Linked DNA regions of Homo sapiens: region 1 is linked to region 2. Evidence: promoter capture Hi-C in 16 types of primary human blood cells and fetal thymus (Javierre and others, 2016). All regions are on one chromosome and are shown on one strand. The core of a region is centred on a gene start or on the middle of the fragment in contact, and the rest is flanking DNA. Distances in the headings are between cores, read along the strand shown. Region 1 holds the start of SIGLEC7 (sialic acid binding Ig like lectin 7). Region 2 holds the start of FPR3 (formyl peptide receptor 3).

Evidence for each region. Contacts are between HindIII fragments. The CHiCAGO score rates a contact against its expected background, and 5 or more counts as called.
Region 1: a contact is called between the fragment with the promoter of SIGLEC7 here and the fragment with the promoter of FPR3 in region 2, in 12 of 17 cell types (neutrophils, M0 macrophages, M2 macrophages and 9 more). The highest score is 22.8, in neutrophils.

The regions. Positions count from the first base shown.
Region 1 is chr19:51,140,240-51,145,225 of GRCh38, forward strand. It overlaps SIGLEC7 (sialic acid binding Ig like lectin 7), which reads left to right and starts at 2,062. Exons shown (of 7, transcript NM_014385.4): 1 at 2,062-2,563; 2 at 4,167-4,445; 3 at 4,673-4,720. The coding sequence starts at 2,131. LOC124904749 (a long non-coding RNA gene) reads right to left here and starts at 271. Exons shown (of 3, transcript XR_007067310.1): 1 at 185-271. The HindIII fragment of the contact is 9,764 bases long and covers 34-4,986 here.
Region 2 is chr19:51,791,376-51,796,715 of GRCh38, forward strand. FPR3 (formyl peptide receptor 3) reads left to right here and starts at 3,782. Exons shown (of 2, transcript NM_002030.5): 1 at 3,782-3,956. The HindIII fragment of the contact is 12,110 bases long and covers 1-5,340 here.

The DNA of each region.
Region 1 (4,986 bases), core at 812-3,311, 650 kb before region 2:
TTGCAGTGAGCCAAGATTGTGCCACTGCACTCAAGCTTGGGTGACTTCGTCCCCACCTCACCACCACCCCTTCCCCCCGAAAAAAGGCAGACACTGGATAGAGATTTGGCAGCCTTGGGAAGCGAAGAAAAACAAAAAAACAAACAAACAAACATAAAAAGACCCAAAGTAATGCTGATCTCACCTCATAGAGATCAGTTCGCTCTCCCTCTCCAAGAGTGTGATACTGTGCTTAATAAACTGCTGCTTCTTGCTTTGCTGTCTGTGTGTGTCTCATCCAATTCTTTGTTTAAGACACCAAGAGCCTGGAACTGCATGGCACCATCCGGTAACACTTCTGCCCACTGAGATACTGCAAATATCCTTATGGGGAGAGAGTGGCTGGGCAAGGAGGAGGCGCCCAGGAGGCAGATTGGTCTGCAGGATGAGATACTAGCTGCAAATGCAGGGATTGGAGGTGAGGGCGGGGAGTGGCTTCGGACGCCCAAACCCAGCATCTTCCTCTCTCAATCGTTACAGCCAAATGATCTCTAGGTTATGGACAATTAGGGGACAGTGTGGGCTGAGCAGATCAATGCAGTTGTATGGAAGAAAACAGACTGGGATTTTCTATGTATACAACATCTTCAGGAAAACCTACGTGAAGTTAGAATTTTCAAGGCAGCATGTGCCGATGATAAAACTACATAGAACAGCAGGAAGACTATTATCATTAAAGTGAGGCTAGGGGCTCCTTCAGGAGGGAGCGGGGGCATGGCCAATAGGAAAGGGGAATGTAAGGGTGAATGAATTAATAAAATCTCTTTCTTCATTTCAAGGGACAGACTTGACAGTTCTTTTGTGTTCTAGTTCTTCAAGGGTGCTTATTTTGTGTGAATCACTGAGTTGGTTTTTAGGGGACACTTTTATGTACATGTCTTGTGTTTCTCCCCGCTCAAAAAAAACTGTTTCAAGAAAAGCTGGCCTGGATCTAAGGGGGCTGCAGCTTGCAGGATTTTTCCCACTTCCTCCCAGCCCAGTCACACAGTTTAAAATAATCTTCTGTTGAAGTCAGGTGCGTGTTTCTTCTCTCAGAAAATCGCGCCCATCACTGAGGGTGGACGCCCCGGGGCTGGTGTCTTTGCTCCACGTCTCCTGTTCACCTGAACCCCTAGGAGCAGTTCCTGCAGGAGCAAAGCCCCAGGGCCAGCAGACCCCTCACACTCTGCACTAACCAGGCCTCATGAGATAGCAGTGGTGAAGGGAAATGTCCTTGTGCTCAGAGAGCTGTGAGGATGGGAATAGTGTCTGCTCTTTTCATATTGATCCTTTCCCTTATGACTTTCCTGTCTACCAAGCCCCACAATACAACAATCACAGCCTCAGCTTCCCCGGCCTCCTGCAGGCTGGGCTCCCCTCCGTGTCCTTGGCGTGTATCAACAGGCGCAATCCTCACCTTCACAGCCCCATGTCCGTCTGCTCGGTCCTCCTGAGACTGAACCCCCGACCTAGGGGAGAGTGACCCCACCCTGCCTGTGCCCCCCACTGAAGCTCCTGTCATGGGGAGCTCAAACGTCAGGAGACTCAGTGTCTCCCCACCACACAGTGACTCCTTGGGGACAGTGTCCGGCTCTGCTGTGTTGACCTCATTGTGCAGAAAGGGGGTGCCCACCTCGTGGCTGCTGAGGGAGGGATGAGAGGCTGCCTGTTCACCCCACCTGCACCCCTGTCTCTCATGGCCCCGAGTCCCACTTCTGAGCTACGCAGACATCCACAGCCTGTGACTCAGGGGTCTGGGCAGATGGGAGTTATTTTCACCCTGCAGAAAATATCACCTAAAGGGAAAGGCATTGAGAGGGAGGCAGGAGGTGGGGTGGGCCCTGCATGGGGTGGGAATCTGGGTGAGTCTGTCTCCCGCTCTGGCCTCAGGGACCCAGGAGTGAATGTCGGGTGGTGGACGGTGGATCTCCCAGGGCTGACCCAGCCCTGACAGTGTCTGTGTGTGAAGTTCTTCTTCTAAGGAGGTCACTGTTTTGACCTCACCACCGACTTCCTGTAGGGCCTCTTCTAAGTCTTGAGCCCGCAGTTCCTGAGAGAAGAACCCTGAGGAACAGACGTTCCCTCGCGGCCCTGGCACCTCCAACCCCAGATATGCTGCTGCTGCTGCTGCTGCCCCTGCTCTGGGGGAGGGAGAGGGTGGAAGGACAGAAGAGTAACCGGAAGGATTACTCGCTGACGATGCAGAGTTCCGTGACCGTGCAAGAGGGCATGTGTGTCCATGTGCGCTGCTCCTTCTCCTACCCAGTGGACAGCCAGACTGACTCTGACCCAGTTCATGGCTACTGGTTCCGGGCAGGGAATGATATAAGCTGGAAGGCTCCAGTGGCCACAAACAACCCAGCTTGGGCAGTGCAGGAGGAAACTCGGGACCGATTCCACCTCCTTGGGGACCCACAGACCAAAAATTGCACCCTGAGCATCAGAGATGCCAGAATGAGTGATGCGGGGAGATACTTCTTTCGTATGGAGAAAGGAAATATAAAATGGAATTATAAATATGACCAGCTCTCTGTGAACGTGACAGGTAAGGCACGGGCTCCAAGAGAGGCCAAAGGCAAATGTGATGAGGGCTTTAGGGCACGGCTGAGACGGGACACATGTCCTGGGAGGGGGCCGGGGGTGATGGACTCAGGAGAGGAGCTGGACCAGAGCCTGAGCTTCCCCAGGACCGCACCTTGGATGCCCCTCCTGATCCTGCAGGCCCCTCCCCTCACCAGCCCTGACCCACAGGCCTGACATCCTCATCCTGCCTCTGACGCTGGCATTGTGGCATGTGGGGCCTTATGACTCCTTGTTTTGGGGCCTGTCCTAGGCATGGCCGGGGTTTAGCACCATCCCAGGCCTCTCCCCACCAGATGCCAGAAGCACCCACTCCACCCATGCAGTGAGACAATAACAATTATCTCCACACATTGTTAAACGTCCTGGGGGGTTAAGTCCTCCCCAGTTGAGAGCCTTAGGTCTACACAACCCCGTGACTCTCTCAGGCCAGGCCAGGGAGGAAGCACTTCCTGGCGCAAACCAAGGGCAGCAGAGGCACCTGAGCCTGGACAGGGAGACTCAGCACACGGCCCCTCCATCTCTCATGCCCTGAGGTCCTCGGAGATCCACATTTAGATGCTCAAAAGACAGGAGGGACCTCCACGATGGTCCAGAGGCCGGGAGGGCAGGACCTACGTGTCTGGTGCAGGCCCTGGTGCTCCAGGGAAGCCCGGAGGTAGGAGGTGGGACACGGTCTCTTCTCCTCCCTGGGTGGGTCTCTAGGGTCTCTGAGCTTCAGGGTTTCCTTCACTCTGTGCAGAGGGAACCAGTTCCTATAGCATGTGGGTTTGTAGTTTCTCTTTCGTGCTGGGTTGAGGTCTCCAGCTCCTCTCCAGCCCCTCTCCAGCCCCCTGTGGGTCCCACAGCCCTGCCCCTCCTCTCCCTCCCACTTCTCTGCTCACACAAGGAGCCCAGGAACCCTCTGTCTCAGAGATGCTGCTGCCTCTCTTGTGGGCAAATGAAGAGAGGGACAGTCGGGGCTGGGCTGAGCCTCATTTCCCCACAGCGTCCCAGGCCCCACTGTCAAGATACAGGCTGGAGGTGCTGGAGTTGGTGATGGTGCAGGAGGGCTAGTGCGTCTCTGTGCCCTGCAGTGTCCTTTAACCCTATTACAACTGAACTGACTCTAGCCCTGTCCATGGATGCTGGTTTAAGAAAGGGATCAATATACAATGGAATAATCCAGTGGCCACAAACATCCCAAATGGAAAAGTGCAGGAGACACGGGGCCGATTCCACCTCCTTGGGGACCTGAAGACCAACAACTGCTCCCTGAGCATCAGAGATGCCAGGAAGGGGGATTTGAGGAACTACTACTTCCAGGTGGAGAGAGGACAGATAAGATGGAATTACAAAACGAAGCAGCTCTCTGTGAATGTGACAGATAAGGCACAGGCTCCAGGAGACACCACAGGGAAAGGTCATGGGGGTGGCAGCGAAAGCCTGGGATGGGGCCCCTGCCCTGGGAGAGGGCTGAGGGTGAAGCGAGTTGGGCTCAGGGCAGAAGCTGAACCAGAGCCTGAGCTTCCCCCAGGGCTGTACCATGGATCCTCTGTCCTGATCCTGAGTCCCCCTCTCTTCACCAGCCTTGACCCACAGGCCCAACATCCTTATCCCCGGTACCCTGGAGTCTGGCTGCTTCCAGAATCTGACCTGCTCTGTGCCCTGGGCCTGTGAGCAGGGGACGCCCCCTATGATCTCCTGGATGGGGACCTCTGTGTCCCCCCTGCACCCCTCCACCACCCGCTCCTCAGTGCTCACCCTCATCCCACAGCCCCAGCACCACGGCACCAGCCTCACCTGTCAGGTGACCTTGCCTGGGGCCGGCGTGACCACGAACAGGACCATCCAACTCAATGTGTCCTGTGAGTGCTGAGCCAGGACGCCCTGGTCCCTGATGAGGGGGGGACGTCCCTGAGGGCAGAGGATGGGGTCAGGGCTCGACACTGGGTGCTGGGTCCCAGAATCTGGGCTGGTTGTGGGATCAGGAGGACGCTGGCTCCGCCTTCCCCATTTATGCAGCTCCTGGGGAGACAGGGCCAGTGTCCCCAGCCCTCACAGTGATGCAGGTCTCCATGTCTTTCTGTCCCAGACCCTCCTCAGAACTTGACTGTGACTGTCTTCCAAGGAGAAGGCACAGGTAGGATGGAGCCCCCTCCCTGGGGCTGGGGGAGCAGGGCCTTCAGCTCAGGGCAGGGCCAGGTCCCTCCTCATCCTGGACTCACCCTGGTGATATGAGACTCCCTTGTAGTTGAACCCAGGCCTCCTCCCCATCCTTAGCCTCTGTGGCCACCTGAGCACCTGTCCTCTTCCCCCCACTCCCCTCAGACTCTTGCACACACACCCTCCTCAGCCCTGCAGCCAGGACAGGGGGAAATACATATAGCAGGAGCAGCCTTTGGGCCT
Region 2 (5,340 bases), core at 2,532-5,031:
AAGAATAAAAAAAGAAAAACCAAGGTTAGGATGCCAACAGATTCCATGTCTGATGAGGGCCCATTACTCATAGACAGCGCCTTCCATATGTCCTCACATGGTGGAAGACAGACAAGCTCCCTCAAGGCTTTCTTACAAAGGCACTAATCCTATTTATGAGGGTGCAACCATCACGCTCTAATCTCCTCCCTATGGTCCCGCCTTTTAATACCATAACCTAGGGGGTTAGGATTTCCCATACAAATCTGGGGAGGGGAGAAACAAACATTCAGACTGTAGCAGATGCAGCAATAGTAACTTTAGGAATGTGGAATTTATAAAGAGCACTCATTCTTCCCCATTCCCCACAGCCATCCAGTCTCCAAGGCTGGTCTACTCAGCCTGGACAATCTGTCTCTAAGCTACGCCTCTTCTTGATCACACTATTCCTGCCCTGGGTAGCTCTTCAAGAACCTTACCTTGATTTCTGGCAACATTCTCCATTCTAATATCTCTGTCTCCAATTAGAAACATTCTCAAAGGCATCCCTTTGCAGGACTACAGAACAATATTTTTCAGAAGCACACACCTGACAAGTCACTGTCCTGCTTAAATGGTTATTCATGTTATTATGAAGAAATTCCAAGTCCTTCTTGTAGCATTCAGGACCCTCCAACAGATGGCTTCTGCCACTTGCTACACACTCAGTGTTTATTGCTGTCTGCCTCACCATCTATGCTCCAATAACCGCAGGTAACCTGCTATTTTTTGACCCTTTCCTGCGTGCTTTCACTCTCCTCTGCCTGGAATGTATTTTTTTTTGCTTCTTTATCTGAGTCTTTAAGATTCATCCCGGATGTTATCTGCATTGCACTTGGAAGTGACCCTGGACCCTGTCAGTCTCAGTTAGTTGTTCCTTTTGGGAAATCTCATAATGAACCAGGCATCTGTCTATCACTATATACCCCCACTCTACTGTGACTGCTTAGGGAAATGGCAGAGGACACCATTGTGCACAAAGGGTGCATAAGACTATGCTTAGTCACAGTAGAGTGACGCTGTCACCTCTTTACCTGGGTAGTCGGCATCTCCAGGGTAAGGCACATGTCTGTTTAAGCTCTATGTCTGCAGGAGCCAGCAAGGGAGCACCTCTTCAGAGGCCTCATGCAATACCCACCACCCTTTATTATACTGATAAGTAAATTCCATTTTAATCAGGTGGCAGGTAGCAATGTGCCACTGTCCTAGGAAAGCAATCATGATTGGCCTAAGCCAATATGAGCAACTTGTCTTTTTTTTTTTTTTTTTTTTTTTTGAGGTAAGGTATTGCTCATTGCCCAGGCTCGAGGGCAGTGGCATCATCATGGCTCACTGCAGCCTCAACTTCCCTGACAAAGCAGTCCTCCCACTTCACCTCCTGAGTAGCTGGAACTACAGGTCCACACCACCACACCCAGCTAATATTTTTTTGGTTTTAGAGATGGGGTCTCACTATGTTGCCCAGGCTGGTCTTGAACTCCTGAGCTCAAGCAATCTTCCTGTCTTGGCCTCCCCAAATTCTGGCATTACAGGCGTGAGCCACTGTCCCTGACCTTTATTTTTATGTATCGGTATTTTTGTTATTTCTTGGCCATTGATTGGTCTAGAGATGGCATGCTCTGGCAATGAAAGACAAGGAGAGGTCCTGAAGAGACTCTGGACAAGGTTTCCCTCTGTAATAAAATGGAAGAGGCATGTGAATGAGTCACATTTTCTGCCTGTCTCATGATTCTGGCTCGGGAGGGCCTGTTGATGCAATGTCCAGAACAGTGGCAGCCATTCTGTGGTCACTTTCAAGAAAGCCCTAGAAGAAAACCAATATGATGATGGAGTGGAAGGGTGACATTAAACTCAATTTTTGTTCAAACTCCAGATCTATCCCCTTCCAAAACTTTTTTTAATAATAAATTTCTCCATGGCTTATGTGCTTCATTGGTTTACTCTACCTTATCACTGAAAACATCCAGTGAATCAGAGAGAAAATAGAAAATAGTTGACTCTTGTTTTGTGGCTCTCCACTGTTTTTCATGGTTCTATTCCTTGGGCTTGAGAACAACATTCTGATGGTGTTTAAAAACTCAGAAAGAGCCCATCTCCTTAGATCAGTAGTCCATAGAGCATCTCCCTAGGGGCAGAAGGTTAGGGGGTTAATCTCGGCAATGGTGTGGAGTGTACAGTGTCTCTCATTTACCTTCCTTACCTCTCTACATGCTCCTAGTTACTGCTTCTCTTTGTAACTCTGAGGTATGAAATACCTCAAAGCATATTTGATTTTGTCACAGATTTCTGGCACAGGGCTCTTAAAACCCTTGGAATTCCCTGAGTGATAGGAGTATTATTTGTTATTCATAAACAGCCCCTTTTGATCATAGCTGAGTTTATGCTAAGGAGATCATGGCCTTAGGATGGGACTGGTCACCAGAAAGACCAAGGGATTAGAGGGTTGGAGCTGTCAGCCCCACCTACTGATCTCCAGGAAGGGGAGGCAGGGACTGGAGATTGAGTTCCATAAAAACTCTTGAACAATGAGATTTGATGAGCTTCCACATTGGTGAACACTCAGGAGTGCTGGGAGAGTGGCTGCCTGAAGAGAGCATGGAAGCTCCATGCACCACCCAACCCCTTCCCTGCCATATACCTGCCATATGCCTCTTTCCAATGGACTATTCCTGAGGTATATTCCTTATATAAAGCAACAGATGCAAACAAAGTGCTTTCCTGAGTTCTGTGTGCCATTCTAGCAATTTATTGGTGTCATTGGAACACCCAATTTATAGCCTGTCAGTCAGAAGTACAAGTAGCCACCTGGGACTTGCAACAGATGTCTGATCTGATCTGAGAACAGTTTGTGGGAGTGAGCCCTTTAGCTTTTCGGATCTGAGCTGAATCCAGGTAGACAGCATCATAACCGAATTTTTAATTGCAGGTGGCCCAGGTGGTGTCCCCAGAGAATTGGAGAATTTCTTGGTGTAGAGAAAAAGTATATTTGGTCAGAAGGATTGTGAAAGTAGAGAATCGAGTTTTTGTTTCACCGTGCATCTTTGTTTTTTTATTGTTTTTCCTCTCATTCTTCTCACCTTGGTAATTGTTTCTTTCATTTTCCTGAATCTCTGAAAAGAAAGGGCCTGGACTCTCAGATTTCTTGGCCTTTGATATTTGGAAGGATGAACTCCAGTCTCCCACAGAAGGCTAGAGGTGAAGGAACATTCAGACACATAAGTTTCCAAGATAAATCGTCTGAGAACATCTCCAAGGTGTCTTCTGGGAATGGTAAGAAACCCTGAGTTTGTGTCACTGGATTGATTCCAGCTCCATTGTCCCCGTGTCCTTCAACTAAGTCTCTGCTGAAGCCTGTTCTATAAAAACAGCAAGTAAGTGGTTTGGACTGACCTATTGTACTAGGTTCGACAAAGCAAACCAAATGGAGTCAGTCATACTAAAACTCCACATCACCAAACCAAAACTAATGTATCTGAACTTTTGAGAAATCAGGAGAGAGAGAAAATGGACAAATTCCTAAAACAGGCCAGTTTCAGTGGGCATGAACATGAAGTTCTGTCTGCTTTCATCTTTACAAAAAAAAAAAAAAAGCAATCTGTGGTAACTTGACTTCAATCAATCAGTTGTTCCTTATTGCTGTCTCTCTATTCCTGCTGCACAAAAAAAATGCAACATCCAGATGACCAATCAGGTTTTTGTTCTCTGTTTCTGCTTTCTTTAGCCCTCCTATCCCTGTAAAACCAACTTCCTTGGCTCTAACTATCAAAACACTCATTTTGTTTTATAGCATGACAGGCTGTCTGATTCCATCTTTATAACCAAAGCCAATTAAGATCTTAAAACCAAACATATAACTTCATCTTTTTACAAGTACTTAGAGCCTGAGTTGCTCCACAGGAATCCAGGAACTGGGCACAGGAAAAGGATCTAAGCTGGTGGTAAGTTGGGGTCTGAAAATTTTAAAGTTATTGTTGAAATGCCTGCTATATGACAGAGCCCTTCTAACTCTGGAGTAGCGTAGTCCAGTGAAGAATCCACTTCGTTAGTATGAAAACAATGTTAACTATTTCATTAACAGTGTTTAATTTGGTTACATGTTCCAGTAACATTCTTTTTTTTTTTTTTTTTTTTTTTTTTTTTGATGGAGTCTTGCGCTGTCACCCAGGCTGGAGTGCAGTGGCACAATCTCAGCCCACTGCAACCTCTGCCTCCCAGGTTCAAGCGATTCTCCTGCCTCAGCCTCCTGAGTAGCTGGGATTACAGGCACCTGCCACCACGCCTGGCTAATTTTTTGTATTTTTAGTAGAGACGGGGTTTCAATATGTTGGCCAGGCTGGTCTTCAACTCCTGACCTCGTGATCTGCCCACCTCGGCCTCCCAAAGTGCTGGGATTACAGGCGTGAGCCAATGTGACTGGCCAATTCTTTATCATATATGTAATTAAATAAAATTTATTACTAAAATAATTTCCCCAAAGGTGTTTTACTTTTTTAAAAACAGTGGCTACAAAAAAATTTTGAGTCCCATATGTAGCTAAAGTTAACACATTATATTTCTACTGGACATGTAGCATTGTAGAGATGTAGCATTGAAGGATCTTGATAGTCCTGTGGAGCTTACGTACTAGTGTGGAGGGTATTTAAGAGAGAAGATAAATGAACAAACAAATAAAGGAGAAAAGTATCTGGTGAGATAGGCTGTACCTGAGCATTCTGCTTTGCAGAGTGGGTGAGGTGGGATCTCTCTGAAATAATATTTGACCTGAAATATGAATATTCAGGATGAGCCAGGTGCAGGAAGCTCAAGACGAAGAGCACGGTAGGCAGAAGGAATAGAGAAAGCAGAAGCCCTGAGATGACAAAGAGCTGCAAGTTCAAGGAATTAGAGCCCAGTGGGTGGAGCCCAGTGTGTCTGATGAGAGTGCAGAGATGAGGTCTGAGGGATGCACAGGGCACATGTGGCAGTGGATAAGGGAACCTAGGATAAGGGAACCTAAGATAAGGGTAACTTAGAAGTCTGGAAGCCATCGGAAGGTATTGCGAATAACATCACCATCTTATTGGACCTTTTTAAAGCTCATTTGGTTTCTGTCTGGAGAATGGATCTTAGGGGAGGGGGCAGCAGGACCAGGAAAAAGCTATTTGCAAGGCTTGTGCAAATATCCAAGCCTGACAGGGCCATGGACACCGGTCGTGGAGATGGCAATGGCTCTGGCTGTGCATTCAGCATGTTCTGTAGATAGAATGAGTAAGACGTGGATGGCGTTGGGTGGTGAGGAAAAGAGAAATGAAAGGTGAGTTCTAGATCTGGAGCTTTAACAAC